Linked DNA regions of Homo sapiens: regions 2, 3 and 4 are each linked to region 1. Evidence: promoter capture Hi-C in 16 types of primary human blood cells and fetal thymus (Javierre and others, 2016). All regions are on one chromosome and are shown on one strand. The core of a region is centred on a gene start or on the middle of the fragment in contact, and the rest is flanking DNA. Distances in the headings are between cores, read along the strand shown.

The links. Contacts are between HindIII fragments. The CHiCAGO score rates a contact against its expected background, and 5 or more counts as called.
Region 2: a fragment that was not itself captured here is called in contact with the fragment with the promoter of CD300LB in region 1 in 1 of 17 cell types (monocytes); the score reaches 6.5 in monocytes.
Region 3: a fragment that was not itself captured here is called in contact with the fragment with the promoter of CD300LB in region 1 in 1 of 17 cell types (M1 macrophages); the score reaches 5.1 in M1 macrophages.
Region 4: a contact is called between the fragment with the promoter of NHERF1 here and the fragment with the promoter of CD300LB in region 1, in 2 of 17 cell types (neutrophils and monocytes). The highest score is 5.9, in neutrophils.

Annotation. Positions count from the first base shown.
Region 1 is chr17:74,530,064-74,532,834 of GRCh38, reverse strand. CD300LB (CD300 molecule like family member b) reads left to right here and starts at 1,360. Exons shown (of 4, transcript NM_174892.4): 1 at 1,360-1,524. The coding sequence starts at 1,485. It overlaps LOC107985074 (a long non-coding RNA gene), which reads right to left. Exons shown (of 3, transcript XR_007065902.1): 2 at 194-288. The HindIII fragment of the contact is 3,995 bases long and covers 724-2,771 here.
Region 2 is chr17:74,780,260-74,783,030 of GRCh38, reverse strand. All of the region lies in intron 2 of SLC38A12 (solute carrier family 38 member 12), which reads right to left. Among named protein-coding and RNA genes, the nearest start is that of SLC38A12, 5.1 kb to the right of the region's middle. RefSeq lists a silencer at 1,877-2,046 and an enhancer at 2,625-2,771. The HindIII fragment of the contact is 4,846 bases long and covers 1-2,771 here.
Region 3 is chr17:74,288,817-74,291,587 of GRCh38, reverse strand. It overlaps DNAI2 (dynein axonemal intermediate chain 2), which reads right to left. Exons shown (of 14, transcript NM_023036.6): 5 at 1,852-1,994; 6 at 455-568. Among named protein-coding and RNA genes, the nearest start is that of DNAI2, 16 kb to the right of the region's middle. RefSeq lists an enhancer at 1,990-2,490. The HindIII fragment of the contact is 3,992 bases long and covers 1-2,771 here.
Region 4 is chr17:74,747,297-74,750,067 of GRCh38, reverse strand. NHERF1 (NHERF family PDZ scaffold protein 1) reads right to left here and starts at 1,440. Exons shown (of 6, transcript NM_004252.5): 1 at 781-1,440. The coding sequence starts at 1,221. It overlaps SLC9A3R1-AS1 (SLC9A3R1 antisense RNA 1), which reads left to right and starts at 201. Exons shown (of 3, transcript NR_187307.1): 1 at 201-1,005; 2 at 1,141-1,495; 3 at 2,525-2,771. It overlaps MIR3615 (microRNA 3615), which reads right to left and starts at 1,455; the gene lies at 1,369-1,455. RAB37 (RAB37, member RAS oncogene family) reads right to left here. Exons shown (of 9, transcript NM_001006638.3): 9 at 2,733-2,771. RefSeq lists enhancers at 377-1,002, 2,291-2,771 and a silencer at 1,207-1,896. The HindIII fragment of the contact is 23,505 bases long and covers 1-2,771 here.

The DNA of each region.
Region 1 (2,771 bases), core at 111-2,610:
CAATGACCCAGGGGTGTTGGGGGGTTCTCCGTGTTCTCAGCAGCAAGCCTCACATTCGAGTCTTCAGTATGGCAGCCAACACTAAGTGTATGTACCCGGCTGACGGATGCCCATTGACTTATTTTATTTTAAAATAGAGGCTAAGAGTGCCTCGGAATGATAGAAGAGATTTTAAGCTCACTCCCATACTTACCACTCCGATGAGTGTCGTACCTTGGATTCCCGGCCAATGCAACAAAATGGTATGGCTCTGATGACTGGAGGAACACTAGGGTCCTTGGTCTCCCACTGGTTTGAATAAAACAACATGGGCACACGTGGAGTGGTTTTAAGGAGTGGAGAATTTAATAGACAAGAAAGAAGGAAGGAAGAGGCTCCCCCTGTTCTGAGACTGAGGGAGGCGGGCTCCAAGCTGAAAGAGGGAACCTCGAGTACGGTGGAAAACAGCCAGTTATATGAGGAGGCTGGAGGAGGCGGTACCTGATTTGCATAGGGCCCAGGGGATTGGTTTGACCAGGTATGTCATTCAAGTAGCCCACGAAAAAACTAGCCTTCCTACCCTAGCCTTTTAATATGCAAATACAGGCGCCATGATGTTCTACACACATGGGTGTATGTAGGGGCGGCCATGTTGCCAGGAACGTGGGGAAAAGAAGAAGAGGCGGGAGTCTCCATGTTTGGGTGGACGCAGTTTCTAATGGCCTGTATTTGCATATCAAAGCTTGCCTGCCCAGCTCTAAGAGCCAGGGCTTTTCTTCTAGACAAGAAACATTTATGGAGCTGCTTTAAAAGAAAAAAAAATCTTCCCAAGCACCCCTTTTCCTATCTACCTAAAATAATTTCTTAATAACTCCTATAACAACAACAAACATTATGAGCCCAGTTAATAGATACAATAACTGAGGCACAGAGATGTTGATTGCATTGTCCACAGTCACGCAGCTTGTAGGTGGTGCTCGTGGGGTTAGAGCCAGGTCTGTCTGACCCAACAGTCTGCATGTTTATGCACTTGGCTATAACACCTGAACAAATGCATGTTCAGGTGTGCCCAGCATGACCCATCCGACATCTGAGTTGGGTGTTCACTGTGGTATAGAACAGCTCTGAAATTGACTCCCAGAGTGTTATACCCCTTGGACCCAAGGCCTGCTAGGCCAGACGCCCCCCACCCCACCCCTTCTGCAGACGTATCTCCCCCTACCCTAAAGACCCTGCACAGTCCCCTCCCTCCTCTTTTTTACATAGTGACGATGCTTAAGCCCTGTGGCGCAGCCCTGCCAAAAAATGACACCTCTTTCGTTTAATAATTAAAAGCAGGAACTACCCACTCTATAAAAGGAAGTGAATGAGTAAGAAAGTCAAAGGCGGTCTAGATGTGCAGAAGGTGCAAGCCAGAGCTCAGGCAGAACTTCCAGAGTGCATCTGGGATCTGCATTTGCCACTGGTTGCAGATCAGGCGGACGAGGAGCCGGGAAGGCAGAGCCATGTGGCTGCCCCCTGCTCTGCTCCTTCTCAGCCTCTCAGGTGAGTGGGGCTGGGGCCTTGGGCGCTTGGTATGACAGGGGCAGGGCAGGAGGCAGAGGGCATTTGTCCTTCCACATCCAGGGAAATGAGAGGTGGCTTTGTGAAGTCATTCGACAAAGGTGCACTGGGGACTGACATCGTGTGCTTCGGGGCCTGAGGACATCAAGAAAAAAGAGGAGGAGAACTGGCCATTAAAGAAGACTCCAGGCTTGAGGCCATGGCTCACACCTATAATCCTAACACTTTGGGAGGCCAAGGTGGGAGGATTGCTTGAGTCCAGGCGTTTAAGACCAGTTTGGGCAACATGGTGAGACCTCGTCTCTATATAAAATGAACAAAAATTAGCTGGGCGTGGTGACCGTGCCTGTAGTCCCAGCTACTTGGGAGGCTGAAGCTGGAGGATCCTTTGAGCTCAGGTATTCAATTCTGCAGAGTTATGATCGCACCACAGCACTCCAGCCTGGGTGATACAGTGGGACCTTGTCTCAAAAAAAAAATAAAGTAAAAAGACTCCAGATGGCTTAGTGGGTGAGACATACACATAAACAATGAGCAATTGCAGGACACAATAAGGCATTGGTGGAGGCGTGTGCGGAGGATGAAGCAGTTCTCTCTGGTGACTAGAGAAAGACTCACGAAGCTGTGCACTTGATGTGCCTTGTAGAAGGAAGGTCAGTCTCTGGAGCAGAGCTGAGAGGAGAACACTCTAGAGAGTTGGGTGTGTGTGTGTGTGTGTGTGTGTGTGTGTGTGTGTGTGTGTTGGGGGACCTGGGCAGAGAGATGGAGGCTTAGAAAGAATGGTGGATTCATGCAGAGGGAGCTGTCAGTGTGCAGGATGTCTTGGAGGTGGCGAGTTGGATATGAGGTTGGAAACACAAAAGACAAGATTATGAAGGCCATCCACGCCAGGCTCAGGAGCTGAGACTTTCAAAGAAAAAACTTCTCAAGAACCCAGGTGGAAAGTGGGAAGGGCTAGATGATCTTCTCCATGGCAAACCTTGGTGGACACCTAGAGGGCATTAGGGGACAATCTAGAATTTTACGCAGGGTGTGCAATGTGTGTGGGCCACACAGTTTTCTGCTGGTGCCTAGGGACTGACCATCTGGCACAGATAGAGCAGTCCACGGAGGGACAACAGGAAAGAGCATGGCTGGGGAGTTCTGAGACCCGACTCCAGTCCTGGCTGGACTTCCACCCTTCAGCCCGTTCAACGGGGCTCTGCTCCAAGCTGACGGCTGCCCTGTCA
Region 2 (2,771 bases), core at 74-2,573, 250 kb before region 1:
GCCTCTGGAGTAGCTGGGATTACAGGCACCCACCATCATGCCTGGCTTAATTTTGTAGTTTTAGTAGAGACAGCGTTTCACCATGTTGGTCAGGCTGGGTCTCGAACCCCTGACCTCAGATGATCCACCCTCCTCGACCTTTCAAAGTGCTGGGATTACAGGAGTGAGCCAACACGCCCAGCCCTCAATCTCAATTTGATCCCACAGACAAATCCCAGAATGATGAAAACAAGTTTGAATCATCTTCCTATGCTTTGGTTGGATCACATCATCATCGTGATATGATTCCCCTTTGGGAGTCCTGGCTCAGAGTGGTGCTGCTAGAATAATTTTGAGGGCAGCAGTTGGGTGAGACAGGGGACACACAGCCCATTGCTGGTCTTCTGAATGGGAAGTTCTGGCTTTTCACAGTGACTGTGAATGTCTATAACTAACTCATGTTTACTTTTGCTGGTACTTTCATGCTCATGTGTACAAGGGTGGGAAGGGGTCATCTAGCTAGCTCAGTTCTGCTCATTTATTCAAAAACCAACAAGAGCCTTCTACAGACCGGGCCCTGTGCTTGGAGCTGAGGATACAATGATAAACCAGACAGATACGGCCCTTGAACTCACGGGGCTACGTTCTAAGGAGGAGGAAACAGACAACAAGAAAACAACTACAGGCCGGGTGTGGTGGCTCATACCTGTAATCCTAGCACTTTGAGAGGCTGAGGTGGGTGTATTGCCTGAGCTGAGGAGTTCGAGACTAGCCTGGGCAACATAGTAAAACTCCATCTCTACTAAAATACAAAAAATTAGCCGGGCATGATGGTGCACGCCTGTAATCCCAGCTACTCGGGAGGCTGAGGCATGAGAATCACTTGAACCCGGGAGGCAGAGGTTGCAGTGAGCCGAGATCATGCCACTGCGCTCCAGCCTGGGAAGAAAACAACTACGGTTACAGCTTGAGAGAGGCGTTATGAAGCAAACAATCAGGGCACTGTGAGAAGACACAATGGGAAAGCATTGGAAACAGTGGATACCCCAGGAAGGGAGCTGGAGGATGAGAAGGTGCTACCCAGGCAATAGACGAGGGAGAGACTTCCCGGCCCAGAGGCCTACAGTGGGAAAGAGGCAGGTAGGCTCGAGGAGCTTTCAGAAGGCCTGTGTGGCTGAAGCACAGCAAGCCGGGCAGGGGTGGGGCTGGAAGAGGCTGCAGTCAGACTGCGAAGAGCCCTTTTGGATGGCACAGGGGGTTGGATGTTTTGGAGCATTTTAAGCAGGGCACTAACAGAACAGACCCCAGCGGAAAACCTAACATCTGCCCTCCCTGCAGCTCTGTTCTCTGCTTATCGCTTCTGTAGGCAGTAATACTTATGAAGGGAAAAAAACCTTATTTCTTTATGGAGAATGATGTTCCCATAATGGAAGTAAAGAGAAAGCAAAGAGGCATAAGAAAGTGACAGTTCTAGGCTAGGTATGGTGGCTCATGCCTGTGATCCCAGAACTCCTGAGGTGGGAGGATGGCTTGAGTCCAGCAGTTTGAGACTAGCCTAGGCAATGTAGCAAGACTCTATCTCTACAAAAAAATAAAAATATTAGCCGGGGACGGTGGCAAGTGCCTGTAGTCCCAGCTACTTGGAAGACTGAGATGGGAAAATCGCCTGAGCCCAGGAAGTCAAGGCTGCAGTGAGCTGTAATTGCTCACTGGGTGACACAGTGAGACCCTGTCTTAAGAAAAAAAAAAGAAAGTAATGGTTCTTAGGCAAAAGTTTTATGGGGAAACTAAACAGTATAAGAGGCATTTGTAAATTCAGGGATGCTTGAAGGTCTTGGGATGTAAAAGTCAAAGGTCTCTTGTGGATCAGGGTTTCTCAGCTTGGGCACTATGGAAATTTGGGGGCCAGGTCTTTTTTCATGATGGGGACCTGTCCTGTGCATTGTGGGATGTTTAGTGGCATCCCCGGCCTTTGCCCACTAGGTGCCGGTAACAACCTCTCTCCAACCAGTACTGTCCTGACAATCAAAAATGTCTCTAGACACTGCCTACTGTCCTCTGGGGGGCAGGATCACCGCTAGTTGACAACCACTGCTGTAGAGAGAGGTATAATGAAATAAGCATGCTCCCAAAAGAAACTTAGGAACCTTTAAGAACTTTACAAAGAAATGAATGAAGAGAGAAACTATTGGCAGTTGGGAGCAGAAATGGGTAATTGCAGTTGTCTTGCTTTGTTGCAATTTTTTCAGTTCCAAAGCAAGCCCTGTGTGTTTAGTGGGGGCTCAGGGAATCCTGCAGGGTAACGTAGGACTTCTCTGCCTTCTCAGGACTGTGGCACTCCTGGCGAGCATTCAGTCCTCTTCACCTTCTGTAAAGGTAATCAGTGATGGCCAATCACAATGAACAGACATAGAGGCAGGAAGCAAATCTGGGCTGAGCCACAGGTTGGGTCAGGAGGGGTTGTGGGGAAGGAAGAGAAAGGAGACGTTCTCTTCTGCTGGTCGTGGGACAGTTCTGTGGGCCAGACTCCTGGGAAGCAGTGGCAGAAAGCTGAGGAATAGGCTCTACTGCAGTCTTGATAATGAAGACCAATGCATGCATTCTAAACTGAGTTATCTCCAATTCTCACCTCTTCCTCTGTGGCTGCACTGGAGGAGGCACAGGCACTGCTCCCTGGGACGGCTGGCCTGCTCTCCTATGCCCTAGAGAGCTCAGTGCAGCATCCCACATGCCTCGTCTCCACCCAGCAGCCTCACTCATGACCTGCATGGGGCAGATGTCACCAGTATCTT
Region 3 (2,771 bases), core at 98-2,597, 240 kb after region 1:
TGTCTGCAGTTGGTCAGCTATGGGAGGCCCTCACCCCACTTAGTCTTCTGTGGCCGAGCCCAGGCTGCCATGTGGGCTCTGCCCTATAGCAGCAGGATTGGCTCTGACTATGAATCTGGGTCCCGGCCAGGTGTGGTGGCCCACACCTGTAATCCCAGCACTTTGGGAGGCCCAGGTGGGTGAATCACCTGAGGTCAGGAGTGCGAGACCAGCCTGGCCAACATGGTGAAACCCTGTCTCTACTAAAAATAACAAAAAAATTAGCCAGGTGTGGTGGTGGGTGCCTGTAATCTCAGCGACTCGGGAGGCTGAGGCAGGAGAATCACTTGAACCCAGGAGGCGGAGGTTGCAGTGAGCCAAAATTGCACCACTACACTCCAGCCTGGGAAACAAGAGCAAAATTCCATCTAAAAAAAATAAAAATAAAAATAAAAAAGCCTAGGTCCCTCCTTACCTATCTGTCCATTGTAGCAGCCACCCAGGAGTACGTGGGAATCTTTGGGGTTGAACTCCAACGTCACGAGTGGAGACGATGGCTTCAGAGCAAGTTCAGGCTTGTTGGGGTTTTCTATAAAGCACAAAAAAATTATCCCCACCAGGCCCGGAAAGAAAAGGACAGGATCAACCAGTTTCACCCCTTCTGCGGGTGGGTAGCGGGGGCATGGTGGCAGAGGGGGAAGCCTGGAAGCCCCTCCAGTCTTTCCCCAGCCTGCACCCCCTGGTCCACCTTGGCCAGAATCTGGCATTCTTGACCCTAGGGGCTTTGCTGATGGTTTTTATTTTTGGTGAACAGGATTGGGGTGTGCGTATGTGTGTGATAATTATATTTCTAGTCCAGTTCCTAGGTTTGGTGTGAAACGAGGTTTTGATACTAAAGTTTTTACACAAAGTCAACTCTCTGCCGGTTTCTTCCAACCAGGTCTGTGGACTGCAGATAATGACGGAGTCCACCCCATAGGGCTGCTGCCAGAACTCGCTGAGCTGTTGGAATGTCGGGCGTTAGCTCTCTGCCTGGCACCTACATGTTTATTTTAATAATGCTGACAACGAAGGGAAGCTGGAGAGCGTGAAGCCACCACCACCCTGTCCCTGCCTGTGTCTTGCCAGCCCTTCTGTAGACAATGGTTTGTGCTAATAAATGGACACGCTGCCCCTGCAGGCCATGAATTAAAGGCAAGTGTCAGGACAGATGGGACAAAGGCACAAGTTCCATTCCGCCGCCCCTTGAGTCCCTTCTCAGTCTGCTGGGCACTCTGTCTTGTTGTTGCTGTTGAGATAGAGTCTCACTCTGTTGCCCAGGATGGAGTGCAGTGGCATGATCTCGGCTCACTGCAACCTCTGACTCCTGGGTTCAAGCGATTCTCCTGCTTCAGTCTCCCAAGTAGCTGGGATTACAGGCACCCACCATCAAGCACAACTAATTTTTGTATTTTTAGTAGAGACAGGGTTTTATCATGTTAGCCAGGCTGGTCTTGAACTCCTGACTTCAGGTGATCCACCTGCCTTGGCCTCCCAAAGTGCTGGGATTACAGGCATGGGCCACCGAGCCCGGCCTGATATGCTCCTTAGGAGCTAAGAATTGAGATCCCATGGGGTCAGGTCTTCATGCCTCGAACTAAGAATCTGGAATTGGTGGGGGTTTCCTGCTTCTGATTTGACTCTGCTTGGCTCTGCCTGAAACCAGACAAGAGAGGAAGGAGAAGAGTGTGTTCCTCCTCGACTGCGGGCCCTTCCCTTGAGGCACCAACCGCGTGAGTGTCCTTGACCTCCTGCCCCTCCCTCCCGCTCCTCCACTTGTGCTGGTCCCAGCCCTCAGCCCTCCCAGGCCACCAGGACCCCGCTGCTTCTCACCCAGGTCCCAGATGTATGAATCGCTGCTCATGCCCACAGGTGCCCGCTGAAAATCCAAGCAGGAGTATGCCACTGCCAACTTCCTGTTGCCATCGGGGTGCCAGGAGAGGTGTGTGGCAGCCCTCTTGATTTCCTGGGGGTCCCTGCAGGGGAGAGGGAAGAGAGCAGAAGGCTGGATGTGAGGTTCCCCAATTTCTCCCCCTTTTTTTTTTTTTTGTCAGATGGAGTCTTGCTCTGTCCCCCAGGCAGTGGCATAATCTCGGCTCACTGCAACCTCTGCCTCCTGGGTTCAAACAATTCTCCTGCCTCAGCCTCCCGAGTAGCTACGATTACAGGCGCACACCACCACGCCTGGCTAATTTTTGTATTTTTAGTAGAGACAGGTTTTTACCATGTTTCCTAGGCTGGTCTCAAACTCGTGACCTCAGATGATATGCCCACCTGGGCCTCCCAAAGTGCTAAGATTATAGGCGTGAGCCACAGTGCCCGGCCCCTCGGATGATTTCTAATGCATCATCCTGCTCTGGTGGTCCATATACGAGGTTAGAGCCCAGCAGGGCTGGAGGGCAACAGGAAGGGCAGCCTCTGCCCCGCCATGCCCTCTCCTGCACACCCCTTGCTGACAGCCACTGGCCCTGCTTGCACACCATGAGTCAGCCCTGCCTCAGAAAAGAGTTCTTTCTTGCTGTGCTGGGACTGGGCTAGGTACTTCCCAGGCCCCTAAGTCAGTCGTGGTAGTGAAATGAATTCCCCAGAGCTGGGATCTGAGGCAAGTCATTTCCCAAACACCTTTCACACCCCTAGTCCTGCATCACCCAGACCCAAGGTCTGTCCTCTGCCCCAGGTCCACAGGCTTCCCCTCCGCATTTCCCCAGCTGCTCTATTCCAGCCTCCTGCTCATCTCCACTCATCTGATTGGA
Region 4 (2,771 bases), core at 191-2,690, 220 kb before region 1:
CATGGCCATCTTTTTCTTCTTCCAAGGTCTTTCCCCTTCCCTCCCAGATACAGTTCTAGGCGCTTACTCTTCACATTCCTGAGAATCGTAAATCCTCTGAGGTGGCAGAACCACCACTCCGAGATGCCTTGGCTCCTCCTCCCTGCCAGGCAACCCCCACACCGCCCTGAGATGGTGGGGCTTCCTCTCCCTTAGAAGTCACACAGGACTCCGGGAGGATGAAGTCCAGCAGGACTGAAGTTCAGGACACACACCGGCGGGCTGCGGAGAGGGCCTCCTCGCGCCGGGGCTCCACACAGGAGGAGTAATGCTATTCCTCTAGCTTTTGAAGTAGGAGTGGCGGGCGAAGCTGGCACCTCTGGGGCGGAGAGCCCTTTCTCCCCGGCCCATCTGCGGACTGGGGTGAACGAGGAGAGGGCACCAGGGAAGGAGCAGGATTGGGGGATTCCGAGGAACGGGAGCAGACACCCACAGACCCGAGGGAAGGGGGCTGGGTTCCCCTGCGCCGCCCTCCCAAAGGCCAGGGAACAAGAGGTGCAGGCGGCAAAGGCGCTCAAGCTCCCAGCACAGCCTGGGAAGGAGAGGAGGTCGCGGGACGCAGCCCCAGGCCTGCCTAGGATGTGTCAGGGCGCCTGGTCGGCGGGCGGAAGCGGTCTCCCCCTCGCAGCTCGAGTTTCAGAAAAACGACGGCGGGCGCGGGGCTGGACGGCCGGGGCACCTGGGTCTCTCCGGATCCTCCTCCCACTCCATGCCAGCCTGCGCGGCTTGGGCCCCGCTTACCTGCTCCGGGTGGCTCTTGTCGGCCTCGCGAGGCTCATTTTCGTTGCCAGCCCCCTGCACCTCGGCGGCGGCCGGCGGCTCGGCCTGCCCCGGCGCTTCCTGGGCGCGCAGCAGCTCCTCTCGGACCTGGACGCCGAGCTTCTGCAGCTGCTCGTCCGTCTCGGGGTCGACCACCAGCAGGCGCACGGCGTTGAGTGCGGCGCGGATGCGGCTCACCACCTGCTGGTGGGTCTCCTTCTCCACGTTTTCGCCGTTCACCTCCACCAGCCGGTCCCCCGCCAGCAGCCCCGCCTTCTCGGCCGGCGAGCCGGGCTCCACCAGCCGGATGTACTGGCCCAACTTGCCCTTCTCCCCGTGCAGGTGGAAGCCGTAGCCGTTCGGACCCTTCTCCAGGCAGCAGAGCCGGGGCAGGGGCGCCCCGGCCGCTGCGTCCGCGCTCATCTCGCCCTGCGACGGGTCAGCGGCGCGACTTGGGGTTCCGATGGGGACGGGACGGGACGGCCCAGCCCTTCTTCCCGTCCAGCGAACCGGGAGCGCAGCAGAGAAGCCCTGAGCCGCCGGACGGGCCAAGCAAGCAGGTGTCCCAGGAACCGTCGGCCGCCGCGAGCCGCGAGGAGCCGAGAGAGGACCACAGACCAATCCCCGCCCCGCGCGGCGTCTGAGCGTCCCAGAGTCCGCCCCGGCTCCTTACCCCGGGGGCGGGGCCGCGCTGAGGGTGGGGACCTCCGCGGGCCAATAGGGGGCTGCAGGCCTGGGCGCTCCGGCCGGGTGAACGGCGCCGGCCATTGGGAACGCGCGGGGCGGGGCCTGCGCTCGGCGCGGCGCCCCGCGGCGGGCGAAGACTAGCGCTCAGGAAGTGGAAGTGTTTGTTACCGAGCGGCCGGCGCTGGGGTGGCAGGGGCGGGGCTCGCCGAATTCCCGGTTCTGGGCGGGTGGGCCCGCCGGCTCCGGCCTGGTTTCCCCTACCTGTGGCGGGGAGTGAGGAAAGCCGGCCCTCGGGTAAAGGACCCTAACTTTTTTTTTTTTTTTTGAGACGGAGTCTCGCTCTGTCGCCCAGGCTGGACTGCCGTGGCGCGATCTCGGATCACTGCAACCTCCGCCTCCCGGGTTCAAGCGATTCCCCTGCCTCAGCCTCCCGAGCAGCTGGGGTTACAGGCGCGCACCACCACGCCCCGCTAATTTTTGTATTTTTAGTAGAGACGAAATTTCGCCATGTTGGCCAGGATGGTTTCAAACTCCTGACCTCAGGTGATCCGCCCTGGGATTACAGACGTGAGCCACCGCACCTGGCCAACGTTTTAACAGCCTTTAGCCAAAGCCTGGGTGCAGCTCCAGTTGAGAGGGAGCGGCTGTTGCCGGGGCAACTGCTCCCGCTCGGGGCAGCGAGGGCCGGTCAGTCTCGAGAATTAAGACGGAGGGCCTCCTCGGACCCTACAGAGTTGTTTGAATAACATTTTTCCGTTTGTGGGAACCCTAACCCTAATCCACTTTGTGCTGTCCCAGGACTCGCATAGAGGAGTGCAGGTTCTGATCCCTGCTGGGAAGGTGAGGGCTCCGCGGAGAGCCTGGGACCTCGAGGGGCAGCCCGCTGAAGACAGGCCATCTAGGGCAATAGCGTGGGCTTTGGCAGCAGCGTTTGGCTAGGGAGGTGGGGTGGGGAGAGGCAGGACAGACTCAGGTAATCAACCTCTGGGTACACGCCACAGGGAAAGGAGCCTTGGTTTTTTTTTTTTTTTTCCAACAGAAAAATGATTAGGACTGTAAAGCCTTCTAGCTCCCTCTTGCCAAAGAGAGGCTGGTCACAGAGGCGGGAGACAGTCTGTTGAGCGGGGAGCTGACCATCTGAGGACAGACACTGAGGAAGGAGGATGGAATGATTTTGGCAGTGAATGACAATTCCTTCAACAAGACCCCCCCCCCCCACTCACTTCAAAGAAACAGTGGACAGGATGTGCTTTCCAAAATACTGCAGTTTAATTCTGAAAAACTCA